2 separate regions of the Homo sapiens genome follow, and region 1 is linked to region 2. The links are contacts of gene promoters, found by promoter capture Hi-C in blood cells and fetal thymus (Javierre and others, 2016). All regions are on one chromosome and are shown on one strand. Each heading gives the region's core, a stretch centred on a gene start or on the middle of the fragment in contact. The rest is flanking DNA. Distances are from core to core; before and after follow the strand shown. Region 1 overlaps LOC105370913 (a long non-coding RNA gene). Region 2 holds the start of CRABP1 (cellular retinoic acid binding protein 1).

Region 1 (6,422 bases), core at 2,527-5,026, 350 kb before region 2:
GGGAGACAAAGGAAGGGAGGTGGGCTTGAGGGTGGGGTGCAAAAGCTGTTCATTCATCTCTCATTTATTTGAACCTATCATGTGCCAAGCACCATGCTGGGCCTTGGGAACTCAGATGAACAAGACTCTCATTCATTCATTCATTCATTCATTCATTCATTCATTCATTGAACATATAGTTATTAAGGGACTTGTATGAAGCTGCCAGGTTCTGGCATAGAGAGGGGGGGTCAGGTAAGCAAATGAGCAATTGCAATCCAGGCTGGTGAGTAGACTAGGAGAGGATGTAGAGAGGGGGGCAAAGGGCACTGCAGATGGAGGAGGCCTCCTATTCTGAGGCTGCAAGGAATTCCCCAAGGCTGGAAGGGACAGTATGTGTTGTGGTTAGAGGGGAGGCTGAAAAGGCCAAGAAAGACCCTGAATGCCACCAAGAGTTTGGAACACATGTACGTAGCTACTGAGCACCTTCCCAAAGGGAAACGCCAGACTCAGATTTTAATTTGGCTACAGTGTGGCGAGTGGAATGAAACTGGGGGATGAAGCAAAGAGGAGGGTAAGAAGGAAGAGATGAGACTGTGGAGATGGTTGAGAGGACTGGGTGACTGGCCTTTAGAGGGTAGGGAGAGGGGACAGGCAGCCATGCAGCCTGTATTCACTGAATGGGAGCAGAGCAGAGTGTTGGGGAACTTACTAACCAGGCAGGCTGCTAAGCCCACCCCAGGTGCACTGAATCAGAATCTCTGGAGTGGGGCTCAGCAATGTGTATACTGCAGCTCAGTGTTCCTGGTCTTGGTGGTCGTGTAGAGGATCCCTAAGACCAGCCATGGGCTCAATGATTTGTTATAAGGATGCAAAGGACTTAGAAAAGCCATTATACCCTTGGTCATGGTTCATTACAGGGAAAAGATACAGATTAGAATCCGCAAAGGGAAAAGGGACAAAGTCTAGGAGAAACCAGGCACCAGCTTCCAGTTATGCTTTCCCAGTGGAGTTGCACAGACAGTGGTTAATTCTCCCAGCAATGATGTGTGACAGCACATGCTAAGTGTTGTCTACCTGGGAAGCCCACCCAGGCAAGCCTTAGTGTTCAAGGTTTTTCTTGGGGGGTCAGTCATGCAGGCATGCAGCTCCTGGGTGACTGACCCCAGCTACTCAGGCTTCAGTCCTTAAAGAAGTCGTATTGATACACCAAGGCCCAAAGTCTCAGGCATACAAAAACATTCTTACAAGGCAGAATATTCAGCCAGGTGTGGGCATGGTGGCTCACGCCTGTAATCCCAACACTTTGGGAGGCCGAGGCAGGTGGATCAACTGAGGTCAGGAGTTCGAGACTAGCCTGGCCAACATGGCGAAACCCCGTCTCTACTAAAAATAGAAAAAAATTAGCCAGGCCTGGTGGTGGGTGCCTGCAATCCCAGCTACTCGGGAACCTGAGACAGGAGAATCGCTTGAACCCAGGAGGCAGAGTTTGCAGTGAGCCCAGATCGTGCCGCTGCACTCCAGCCTGGGCAATGGAGTGAGAATCCACCTCAAAAAAAAAAATAAATAAATAAATAAAAGGCAGAATATTCTAAAGTTATCTCCCCAGATGTGGTCAAGGGCCAATCCTCTTTTTGGAATGTGCAGGGTTGGAGTGACCCAAGGCTGCTGAGCAAACTAACCCTTTACTGTCCAGTGGTCTATATTAGAATGGCCTGGGGAGCTTTCAGAATGCCCTATGGCCAGGCTGCACCCAGACCAATCACTCAGAGTCCCTGGAGAGTCTATCCAAGGTCAAGACCCACAGCCATAGATAGTAATTGGTACCAAAGGGGAGTGAGCTCATCCCAGAGGGAATGAGGAGAGAGTGGTCACAGGTGGAAGAGATGCCCAAGAGCAGTGGACTAAGGATCAGCAGAGGCTGCAGACTGCGAGAAGGATGGCACACAGAGAAGGAGAGCTAGAGAAAGGGCAGAGAACCAGGGTCCCCAGAGTCTGGACAGCAAAGAGAGAGAGTAGGCAGCCAAGTCACATAGTGATCTGGTGCCTTAGTCAGCTCAGGCTGCTATAACAAATTACTAGGTGGCTTAGACAGTCATTTATTTTTCATAGTTCTAGAGGCTGGGAAGTTGGAGATCAGGCTGCCAGCATGGTTTGGGTTGGGTGAGGACTCTTTTCTTGGTTTCTCCTATGGAACCTCCTTGCTATATCCTCACACGGCAAAGAGAGAGAGAGAAGGCCTACTTGCTCGTGTTTCTTCCTATAAGGGCATTAATTTCATCATGCAGGATACAAACATTCAGTGCATAGCACCTGGGAAGGCTCAGTTAGGCCCAGGGTGGGAACAGGATGCCAGGAGGTGCAAAAATTTCTGTCAGTCTGGCACTCTGTTCCCCCTCCCCCTCCCCTTCCTCCTCTTGCTCCTCCTCCTCCTTCTGATCCCCTCCCTCTTTCTTCTCTGCAGCTCTCCACTCCCTTCCTAGACTTTCTTCATAGAGCCAGAAGAGGGTACCTGAATTGGCCTGGACTGCTCAGCCTGTACGGTTCTGGGAGTGGGGTGGGGTGGATGGAGTGAACTCAGCAGGCACCCCCAGCTCTGCTCTCCTGTGGTGTGACTGGATCTCCAGGAGGGACTTCGACTTTTCCAGGTCTTAGCACTGAAGATGCTTTGGTGCTTCTGCACAGGGGAGAAAATTCAAAATAAAAACAAAACCATAAACCATGCAATACAACTTTTATATGGATGCTAAAAATAAAATGTTGTTTTGTTTTCTTAAAGTTTCCAATGGCAAAAGTCTGAATATTTGGAAGCTGAACCTCCTTTGCCCTCTTTTGGAGGATGTACTGGTTTTGTAGTCATCCGAAACCCGCCTTGGTTTACCTATGTACTGGGTCACCCAGTCCTGTGGACCTTTGAGTCTCAAGCCCATGCACACCAGGGCAAAGGCCTTTGGAACCCTAGTATTCTTCCTGGGGTGGGAAACACACTGACTCCTCTGCATTATCCCCCTCACCCCCACCCTAATGGCTCTGCAGGGGAGAAGGGCTTTGATGCATTATTCAGGGATCTTCAGGGCCAGCTCTCAGCTGATTCCCAACATGTGATTCACTATGAGCTGGAGCTCAGCTGAGCTCGGGGAAGACCCAGGTAAATAGAAGCCATCCCTGGCCTGGACTGGGAGCAGGGGGATGGGGCAGGACTCTGATCAGCATCAGTCTTGCCAGGCAGGGGCCCAGAAGCTTGGGGGGATTCTGGGGATGCCTTGGCCTGAGGCTGTAGGATCGTCCAAGATGGGTGTCCAGGAAGAGGGGAACATGAGCCACTGAAGCCATAGCCGAGACCCAGGCCATGGCACATGATAATATGTGGGATTCCTGGGGCAGGGCCTGTGTCTGGCATGTGGCAAGAGCTCAAAAACTAATGGTGGGATCAAATCCCCATGAGCAGAGCCCATCCAGGGTCACCAAAGAGCCTCCTGTCACCCTGGCCTGTCTCACTGGGGTTCTGCCTTGTTGATGCCGAAAATCTGAAGCTGATTACAGTAAGCAGTCAGTAGCCCTCTCCCAGCCTGGTCTTTCCTGGCCTCAGGCCACATACCACTTCCAGGAAGCCCTTGTTTTCCGCTGCAATGTGGCTTCCTCTGCTCCGAGTGTGGATCTGGTGTGAGCTTGGCATTGGAAGTCGCTTGGCTGGATTCAGACTCTAGGTCCCCAGTACAGCAAAGCCACTCATTAACCATGTGGTCTCAGGCAAGTGACTTAACCCCTCTGAGCCTTGATTTCCTCATCCATAAATGAAAACTAATACTAGTCCCTATTATCAGAGCTCACAGAGTGAAGTGCAGAGCACAGTGCTTGGCATATGAGAAGCACTAAGCATGTGTTAACTGGATGAACGAATGAGGAAATGAAGGAAGTGGGGCCTGCCCAGGGATTGACCTAGGGAAGCATCTCCTGGCTTCCTCCCGCTAAGGCTCTAGCCAAACCCTCCCCATCACTGAGAAGGCCTCGGGGCCAGCAGGTGATGTGAGGAGGAGAGAGTGACAGTGAGGAACACCTCCAGACCTGGGAGGGTCCTGTGGGGGCCCTTCCTGGCACCAGGAGATGAGGGAGAAAAGGATTAAAGGCAGGAGCTTTCCCAGGACGAATCAAGTCATTATAGGGTTGGATTGCAGGCGCTCAGTTTACATGATAAAGTTCCTTTTGGAAGGGGTGGAAATACTGGTTTTAAGAAACGATTTAGCTTGCATGACATGACTGCAAAGGGCAGAAATAAATATGAATGCCTAATCCAAATTCAGTCCTCTCCAAAAAGCATCCAACTCTCTGAAAGTTGGTTTTGAAGGAAGCTTTTCCCCCACTCCCATCCAGACCCTGCTCCTAAAAGGCAAGGTGTCCAATCATCTGGCAGGGGAAACAGCTTCAATTCTGCCCAGCCCTAGTTGTTCTTAATTAAAGAACAATCTGTTTTTTTTTTTTAACTCTTTGTTCTGTGATCTTTTTTACCCCATCTCTTTTCAAAGGTGTTTTCTTTTGTTTTGTTGAGACAGGGTCTCACTTTGTCTCCCAGGCTGGAGTGCAGTGGTGTGATCTCAGCTCACCGCAACTTCTGCCTCCCAGGATCAAGCAATCCTCCCACCTCACCCTCCCGAGTAGCTGGGACTATAGGTGCACGCCATCATGCCTGGCTAATTTTTGTATTTTTTTACTGTAGAGATGGGGTCTAGCCATGTTGCCCAGGTTGGTCCAAAACTCCTGGGCTCAAGCAATCCTCCTGCCCCAGCCTCCCAAAGTACTGGGATTACAGGCATGAGCCACCTTGGCTGGCAAAAGCTGTGATCTTTATGCATCAGAGAGGAACATCAAGAAAGCAGAAACTTGCTTGGCTTGCCAGATCTTGGGAGGTTTTGTTCCCATGCTAGGTCTTGGGCCTCTCTCACCTGGAGCTACAGCAGACATTTCAGCCATATCTCACAATACTGATTTCAGCTCTCCTCTCTCCCACTACATGACAACCAGAAGCTTTATTAGAAAGCCTTAGCCTGACATTGTGACCTCTACATTGAGGTAAAGAACTAGATAGAAAAAAGGTCTATCTAGTCCAAAATGTCAGAGAGGCCAGGTGCGGTGGCTCATGCCTGTAATCCCAGCACTTTGGGAGGCTGAGGCAGGCAAATCACCTGAGGTCAAGAGTTTGAGACCAGCCTGGCCAACATGGTAAAACCCCATCTCTACCAAAAATACAAAAATTAGCCAAGTGTGGTGGCAGGTGCCCATAGTCCCAGCTACCTAGGAGGCTGAGGTACAAGAATCACTTGAACCCGAGAGCCGGAGATTGCAGTGAGCTGAGATTGCACCCTTGCACTCCAGCCTGGGTGACAAAGCAAGACTTAAGTCTCAAAAAAAAAAAAAGAAAAGAAAAAAGTCAAAGAGAAACTCTGGGTTAGAGGAAGGGTTGTCCTCCAATGAGCATGGCCTTAGGCTTTCAGCCCCTCTAAGAATGAGTTGTTCCTTGCTTTTTGTCCTCCAATGACCACATCCTTAGGCTTTCAGCCCAAGAATGAGTTGTTCCTTGCTTTTTTTCCTCCATCTCTCATTGGCCCAGATGTGGGGAAGGGAGGAGTTAGACCAGGGTAGGATCCAAGCACTCCTGATCCTCTGAGCCAAATATGGTTCTCCAGATAGCACAATTTCCCTGAAAAATGCAGTCCAACATGGAGAGGGTGAGAAACATGCTTCATCTTCTACTACACTGGCTTTAAGAACTAATCTTAAAAACATGACAAGAGGCCAGGCGCAGTGGCTCACACCTGTAATCCCAGCACTTTGGGAGGCTAAGGTGGGCAGATGACCTGAGGTCAGGAGTTCGAGACCAGCCTGGCCAACATGGTGAAACCCCGTCTCTACTAAAAATAAAAAATTAGCTGGGAGTGGTGGCACGCACCTGTAGTCCCAGCAACTCAGGAGGCTGAGGCAGGAGAATCGCTTGAACCCAGGAGGCAAAAGTTGCAGCAAGCTGAGATCATGCCACTGCACCCCAGCCTGGGCGACAGAGTGAAACTCCATCTCAAAAACAACAAAAAATGAAAAGAACATTCACTATAGAGCTGTTCATAACTGAAAAAGATTAAAAACAACCTAAATGTCTACTTATAATGACCAGATAAATAAATCATGATACATTCATGCAGTGGGATTATATGCAGTTGTTGAGTGAGATAGCTCTAGATATAATGATACAAAACAATCTGCAAGACATATTATTAAGAATACTTAATGTGTGAGCCACCAGGCACAGTGGCTCACACCTGCAATCCCAGCACTTTGGGAAGCTCAGGCAGAAGGATGGCTTGAGCTCAGGAGTTTGAGACCAGCCTGGGCAACATAGTGAGACCACATCTCTACAAAAGCAAAAAAATTAGTCGGGTGTGATGGCACACACT
Region 2 (6,426 bases), core at 793-3,292:
CTTTAATTTTTTTTTTTTAAATCAGAATTACCCTTCCTGGCAGTAGCCAACATTGGATGTCCCCAGACTGAGCCCTGCCTATTGCCAAGCCTCCTCTCTTAGACTCCCAGCCCTTCACTCTATGCTGTCCTGCTCTTTGTTTCTGCAGTGCAGTTTAGGCTTCAGATCCCACCCCCTCCAAGCGTGGAGATCATTTCCAGGCTATGACAATTCTGGAGCCAAAGATTGCCTCCTAGATCAGCCTGCTTCTGGGGGGCTTTGTTTCTTTGTCCTTCCAAGCCCGGTGCTCAGAGAGTCCCATTCCGAGATCAGACCAGGCACTGCTCAGGAAAGGTGAAAGAAACAATTTCCCACTCTCTGGAATGTTACGACTTTTTTCTTTAAAAAAAAAAAATTGGAGAAGGGGAGGGAGACATTCTGTCACTTTTTAAATAAGTGGTAGCACCGGTGATTATTTTTCCATCTGGTTAACCAAATGCAATTTTTGCCCATGCAAAAAACGAATGTACAACCCCTTGCTTCAATCCACCGGTTCATCCCTGGGCCGATGCATGGAGAAATAAAAAAAAACTCTTGCCCTTGAGGACTAAGAGAGGGCAACTAGTCCATTTTCCCAGCCAGAACCTGCCTTGCTTTTGGAAAGACTCCGCCGTTCCTTTAAGGAACCAGGCCGAAGGCGGGAAGGGAGAGGTGACGGGGCCATCGGGACTGCTAAAACTGTATCCAGAGCGTACCCAGGCGGCCCAGGGACCCGGGCGGGCGCGGGGGATACGGCGGGAAAGGAATGCAAGAGCTGCGGCTTCACCTGCGACAGAGAACCTGGCGGCTCCTGCAACCTCCTCCTCCTCCTGCGCCGCCTGCGCTTGGCGCTGCAAACCGCTGCAAAAGCCACTGCTGGGAACGCGGCGCAACCCAGAGCCCGCTCTTTAAGCGCGGCTGTTAGCACCCCGGGAGGCAGCGTAGGGATGGGGTTGAGATGGAATGAAGGTAATACTTTGTCTTGAGCCAGGGGCAACTAGGATGCACAAACCCCCTCTGCAAACAGCCAGTGTACACACCCTGCAAGGAAGGCGCGCCACAGGCTGCAAAGGGAGACACAGGTTCCTCCAGCAGCAGTGGGCCATGGGCACCGAGCGGGGACACGGGGACGCTGTAGTGGCTCTGGGGCCTCACCCTGCACTTGCGTCCGTCCACGGTCTCCTCCTCAAAGCCTTCTCCGACCTTGAAGTTGATCTCAGTGGTGCGCACCGTGGTGGATGTCTTGATGTAGAACTGATCCCCGTCCTGGCGGATCTCCACGTGCGGCTTGGACGCAGCCGCTACGGCCACTTTCCTCAGCATGGCGTTCACACCTGCGCAGGGTGCACCACAGGCTTGGGTCACGGGGCCTCGCCGCCAGTCTCGGGACCGGTCGGGCACTGGTCATACCCTAACTTTAGAAAGGGGCCTTAAAATTGATCCACTCGTTTCCCTGCCCTCGCCCTTGTTTTCGAGATGAGAGACTGAGGCACAGAGAGGGTAAGTGACTTTCCTCGAGTTGCACAGTGAATTCGTGGCAGAGCCTGGTCCCAAATTTGAGTCTCCAAATTTAAGTCCCTGATCCTCCTTGCTCTCCAGTAATCTCTCCTCGCTATGATCTAGCACGAGATAAAGTCCGCACCATCGAGGAGGGCGCCAAACATTCAGCAAACGTTCGCTGAACGCGTGGGTTCCGGGATCTCTACCAGCTTCTCCGAGACCCGGTGCGCCTGGGAGACAAGGCGATCTATTGCCCCGGGGACTCCCTCCTGCCTGGGCTCCCCAACTTCCACCCCCTCCAGGACCGGGGCACTTCCGGGACCAGGGCACCTCCGGGCCGCATCTCCCCGTCGGGGCGCGCCCTCTGCACCAGCTTACCCAGTGCCTTGAGCAGCTCGTCGAAATTCTCGCTGCTGCGCATCTTCCAGGTGCCGGCGAAGTTGGGCATGGTGGCGGTGGCGGCGGCGGCAGGTACGGACAGCGGCGGCGCAGCGGGCACACTCTGAGCTCGCAAGGCGGAGACTGGCGCTTTGCGCCCAGCGCTGCGCGCCTTGAGTCACTAGGAGAGCGCCCCCAACCCCGCCGGGCTTCTGGCCCCGCCCCGCCGGCCCTGCCCCCGCTCCCCCGCAGCCCCTACTCGGTATGCGCTCAACTCCCAGCCCAGTTGTGCCTCAGCCTCCAGAGGTGCGGGCACCCGCTCTCCAACTGGGGAGCCTCCACCTCCCTCAGGACACCCACATCCCGCTTTAAAATGGGTGGTGGGAGAGGGTTAGCTGAAACAAGATGGGCTTGGAGGGGATAACTGTTGAAGCTGGGCGGTGTGGACTTGGGTTATGATTCTACTTTTCTCTCTACTTTTGAATATGTTTGAAAATATCCATAACATAAACTTAAAGTGGATAGCGAGCGGGGCCATCAGGGGATGGGACCCACTCTTTTTTCACCTCCGGTCGTACCTACTGGGTGTGCCCAGATGGTGTCCCTTCCCTCCCAGTCCGGGATCCTATTCTGAAACCCTCTCCCCGCATCCCCACGCCCCCCACAGGACCCATGGGGAGTGAGTGGCAGGAAACCGCAACCCCCATCAACACCAGCTTGGGCACTGAGGCGCGAATCCACGAGCTGCGGGTCCTCCGCGTTCCGAGTGCAGGAGGGGGCCAGACCTTTGTCAGGGCTCAGGACAAACTGTGGGTCGAGAGGCATGGACTGAATCAGCTCCAGAATCTGGGCTAGGTGCGGCCTGTTTTGCAAAAGCGTGAGGCTTTGCACTCTTCGGGCAGGCTGTGAGGGCCAAGGGGAGGAAGTCTTCTCCCTTTGCTCCCAAATAACCTAAACATCACGACCTAAAGTCCCCTCGGTGTTTCCACTAAGGGAGTACAAACACTTCACTATTACCCTTGTAGCTCTTCTCTGTACATTTTCCTTCCAGCTTTTTCCCACTATTTTACCATCTGCACACCTCAGCCAAACTGTACAATTCAGGATTCTAGAACGTGCCATGCATTTTATTATCTCTAAGTTTTTGCCCATGCCATGGCTTCTTCCTTGAATGCCCCTTTCCTCATCGGGTTAATCAAATCTTGCCCATTCACGAAAGCCCATCTTTATGCTCTCTCTTTTGTGAAATTCAGTTTCCTAATAAACTGTGATTATTTTTCTCTGAATTGACAGGATTCTTGTCCGGTCCTGCTCTTGTTCAAGTCTTCGCTCTGCTATAAACTGAACTCCTGGAGGGCAGTGATCGTTTATCCACTTGTCCTCCCTTCCTAAGGCTTAGCCAGGTGGGGCTCGATAACTGTGCATTGATTTGAGGAGGATGTGAGTGGTGGCCTGGGGTGAAGATTCCCCCAGGACCTTGGGGAATCTGTGCTGAGTGCCTACTGAACAGGGCCCTGGAAACTTCTGGAGGTGGCTGGGGCTGGGTTGCTGCCAGGAGGCTCCGAGGATCTGTCTAAGAAAGCAGCTGAGGACAGGAGAGGGGAGTGGGGCCATCACCAGCTGGAAAGGGGCATGGGCAGGGCCGGCATTCTGGACGTGCCGTCTGTGCAGTCACACAGGGCCATGCACTTAGAAGGGCCTGATAGTTAGATTGGAAAATGGAAAAGCAGGAATGCTCTGCTATTGCCAGCTTGAACGTCAGAATACTTTTTGTTTGTTTGTTTGTTTTGAGACAGAGTCTCGCTCTGTTGCCCGAGCTGGAGTGCAGTGGCGCAATCTTGGCTCACTGCAACCTCTGCCTCCTGGGTTTAAATGATTCTCCTGGCTCAGCCTCCCAAGTAGCTGGGACTACAGGTGTGTGCTACTATGCCCAGCTAATTTTTTGTATTTTTAGTAGAGACAGGGTTTCACTGTGTTAGCCAGGATAGTCTCGATCTCCTGACCTCGTGATCCGCCCTCCTCGGCCTCCCAAAGTGCTGGGATTACAGGCATGAGCCACCGTGCCTGGCCCCATAATACTTTTTGAACAAGGAGTCCTGAATTTTTATTTTGCACTGGGATCTGCAAATTAAGTAGCAGGTCCTGGATGTGGGAGGCAAGGGATGGAGCTGCCATAGAATCAAACCCACTTCACAGAGGGTTGAGTGCCTCTCCAGTGAAGGGGCAAAACAGGAGTGCCATCCAGCTAATGCAGGCCTCTGCCCCCATCCAACACTCTTCCCTAAGAAGGCTTCAGCCATCTAAAGGGCAGGGCTGGGGAGGGACTGGGGCAGGAGGCTGGAGGAGGGCAGCAATGTTGGAGCAGCATCCTAGTTTACAGCCCAGAGAGACCTTGTGAGGATAGTCAGAGGGCCGTGGATGAGGCACAAAGGTGACAGAGAGCTCTTGCAGCAAAGGCATTGGATGGACAAAGAGGGAAGAGGGAAAGAAGAAGGTGAGGGAGGGAGTCAGAGAGAGAATGGGGCAAGAGGGGCCAGATGAAGGTGTCCACTCCAAAAGTTGGCCATACTGGGACAGGACAGTGGTGTCGTTCTGCAGGCACAAAACAAGGGCGGGAGCAGGGTCCAGGAGTGAGGAGGGCACAGCCAGTTCAGCCATAGAGTGGAAGATGATCCCAGAGTCCTTGTGAGCCCACTCTCCTTGTTTTTAAGACAGGGTCTGGCTCTGTCGCCAGTGCTGGAGTGCCCTGGTGCCATCTTGGGTCACTGTAACCTTGCCTCCCGGGCTCAAGCAATCCTCCTGCCTCAGCCTCCCAAGTAGCTGGGATTACAGGCATGCACCACCGTGCCTGGCTAATTTTTGTATTTTTAGTAGAGACAGGGGTTTGCCATGTTGCCCAGGATGGTCTCGAACTCCTGAGCTCAACCAGTTTGTCCACCTCAGCCTCCCAAAGTGCTAGGATTACAGGCATGAGCACCCAGCCTGCTGTCCTTGTTAATGGAAGTTTAGAGGTGACCAGAGCAGACAGGAGGGGCCAGGACTTCTCAGAAGACCCAAATCTCATCAGGTGGCACATGGAAATGGGAGGGCAGGCTGCTATCACCTTCCTGGCTACTGGGGAAACCCCAGAGTCAAGAGGGCCACAAAAACACCACCACCATGGCTGGGCACGGTGGCTCACACCTGTAATCCCAGCACTTAGGGAGGCTGAGGCAGGCGAATCACCTGAGGTCAGGAGTTCGAGATCAGCCTGGCCAACATGGTGAAAACCCATCTCTACTAAAAATACAAAATTAGTCGAACATGGTGGTGCGCCCCTGTAGTCCCAGCTACTCAGGAAGCTGAGTGAGGAGGATCACTTGAACCCAGGAGTCCCAGGTTGTAGTGAGCAGAGATCGCACCACTGCACTCCAGCCTGGGCAACAGAGTGAGATTCCGTCTCAAAAAGAAACAAACAAACCAACAAATAAACAAACAAAGAAAGCCACCACCATCGTGGTGTTTCTGTGGATCCAGAGCAGGCCCCCTGCTGGGCAGAGACCCGGCTCTTGGCCCGGGTCTTCAAACAGATGGGCAGAACCACCTGAAATGCTCTGACCTCCCTGTCTTCTCTCCTTCTCTTCTTTTACCCTTCCATTCGCTAACCTTTGCTGACCATCTCTGTGAGCCAGGAACTGGGTGCACCTCTGAGGATAGTGACCACTCAAGATCCAGGTCCTGTCTTGAAGGTTCACTGTTTACACAGGAGGAAATAACCTAGAAACTCTGTGATCACCACACGGGCTAATAGTGCCTGAGGGGCAGGTACTGAGCCCAGCCTGGGTTGAACCTTAGGAGTGGATCCAGAGGGGCTGTGAGAGTGAGGGAGTACAGTCAGAAGAACAACACGTGCAGGGACAGGGTTATGTGTTTGGGAACCACATATCTTTTGGCCTGGCTGGAGTGCATACCTTGAAGGGAGCAAGGTAGGAGGTAAGACAAGAGATGAGCTGAAGGCACTCTCCTAAGGACAAAGGGTCATGAATGCAGCGTTCCCAGGTGGCCACATAGAAGGATTTAAGCAGAGATGAGCCATGGTCCTACTGCATATTTGGAAAGTTGCCACCACCACAGCGTGGAGAATGAATGAGAGGAGACAAGTATATTACCAGGGATGCAGGGAGGAGGATTTTGCCCTGAACTAGGCAACCAGCGGTGATGTCGGCAGTGGGTTAGACCACAGTGGTTCCCTAAGGCTAGTCTGTGATTTGAGTCAGGCATTACAGCAGCCTGGGGAGCTTTCTAGAAATTCAGATTCCTTGGCCCCAGCCCAGGAGATTTGGATCCTGTAAGTCGTGGATAGGGCCCAGGAAACTGTGTTCGGCAAGTTTTCCAAGTGATTCTCCTTGCACAGCCAGATTGACTTTACAATATGTCATGACTGGTAGGGGTGAGGGAAGTGGGAGCAAGAGGCCAGAATGACTCCTAGATTCCTGGGTGGTGTGCTTGGTGGTCTCATTTGCTGCTATAGGTAAGACATGGATGGCAGAT

What was found. The method cuts DNA at HindIII sites, captures the fragments that hold promoters and counts their contacts. A CHiCAGO score of 5 or more calls a contact.
Region 1: a fragment that was not itself captured here is called in contact with the fragment with the promoter of CRABP1 in region 2 in 1 of 17 cell types (erythroblasts); the score reaches 6.6 in erythroblasts.

Annotation. Positions count from the first base shown.
Region 1 is chr15:78,688,916-78,695,337 of GRCh38, reverse strand. It overlaps LOC105370913 (a long non-coding RNA gene), which reads left to right. Exons shown (of 3, transcript XR_932509.2): 3 at 2,444-2,762. Among named protein-coding and RNA genes, the nearest start is that of CHRNB4, 51 kb to the right of the region's middle. The HindIII fragment of the contact is 1,109 bases long and covers 3,222-4,330 here.
Region 2 is chr15:78,335,969-78,342,394 of GRCh38, reverse strand. It overlaps CRABP1 (cellular retinoic acid binding protein 1), which reads right to left and starts at 2,042. Exons shown (of 4, transcript NM_004378.3): 1 at 1,897-2,042; 2 at 1,174-1,352. The coding sequence starts at 1,966. RefSeq lists an enhancer at 1,864-2,492. The HindIII fragment of the contact is 12,559 bases long and covers 1-6,426 here.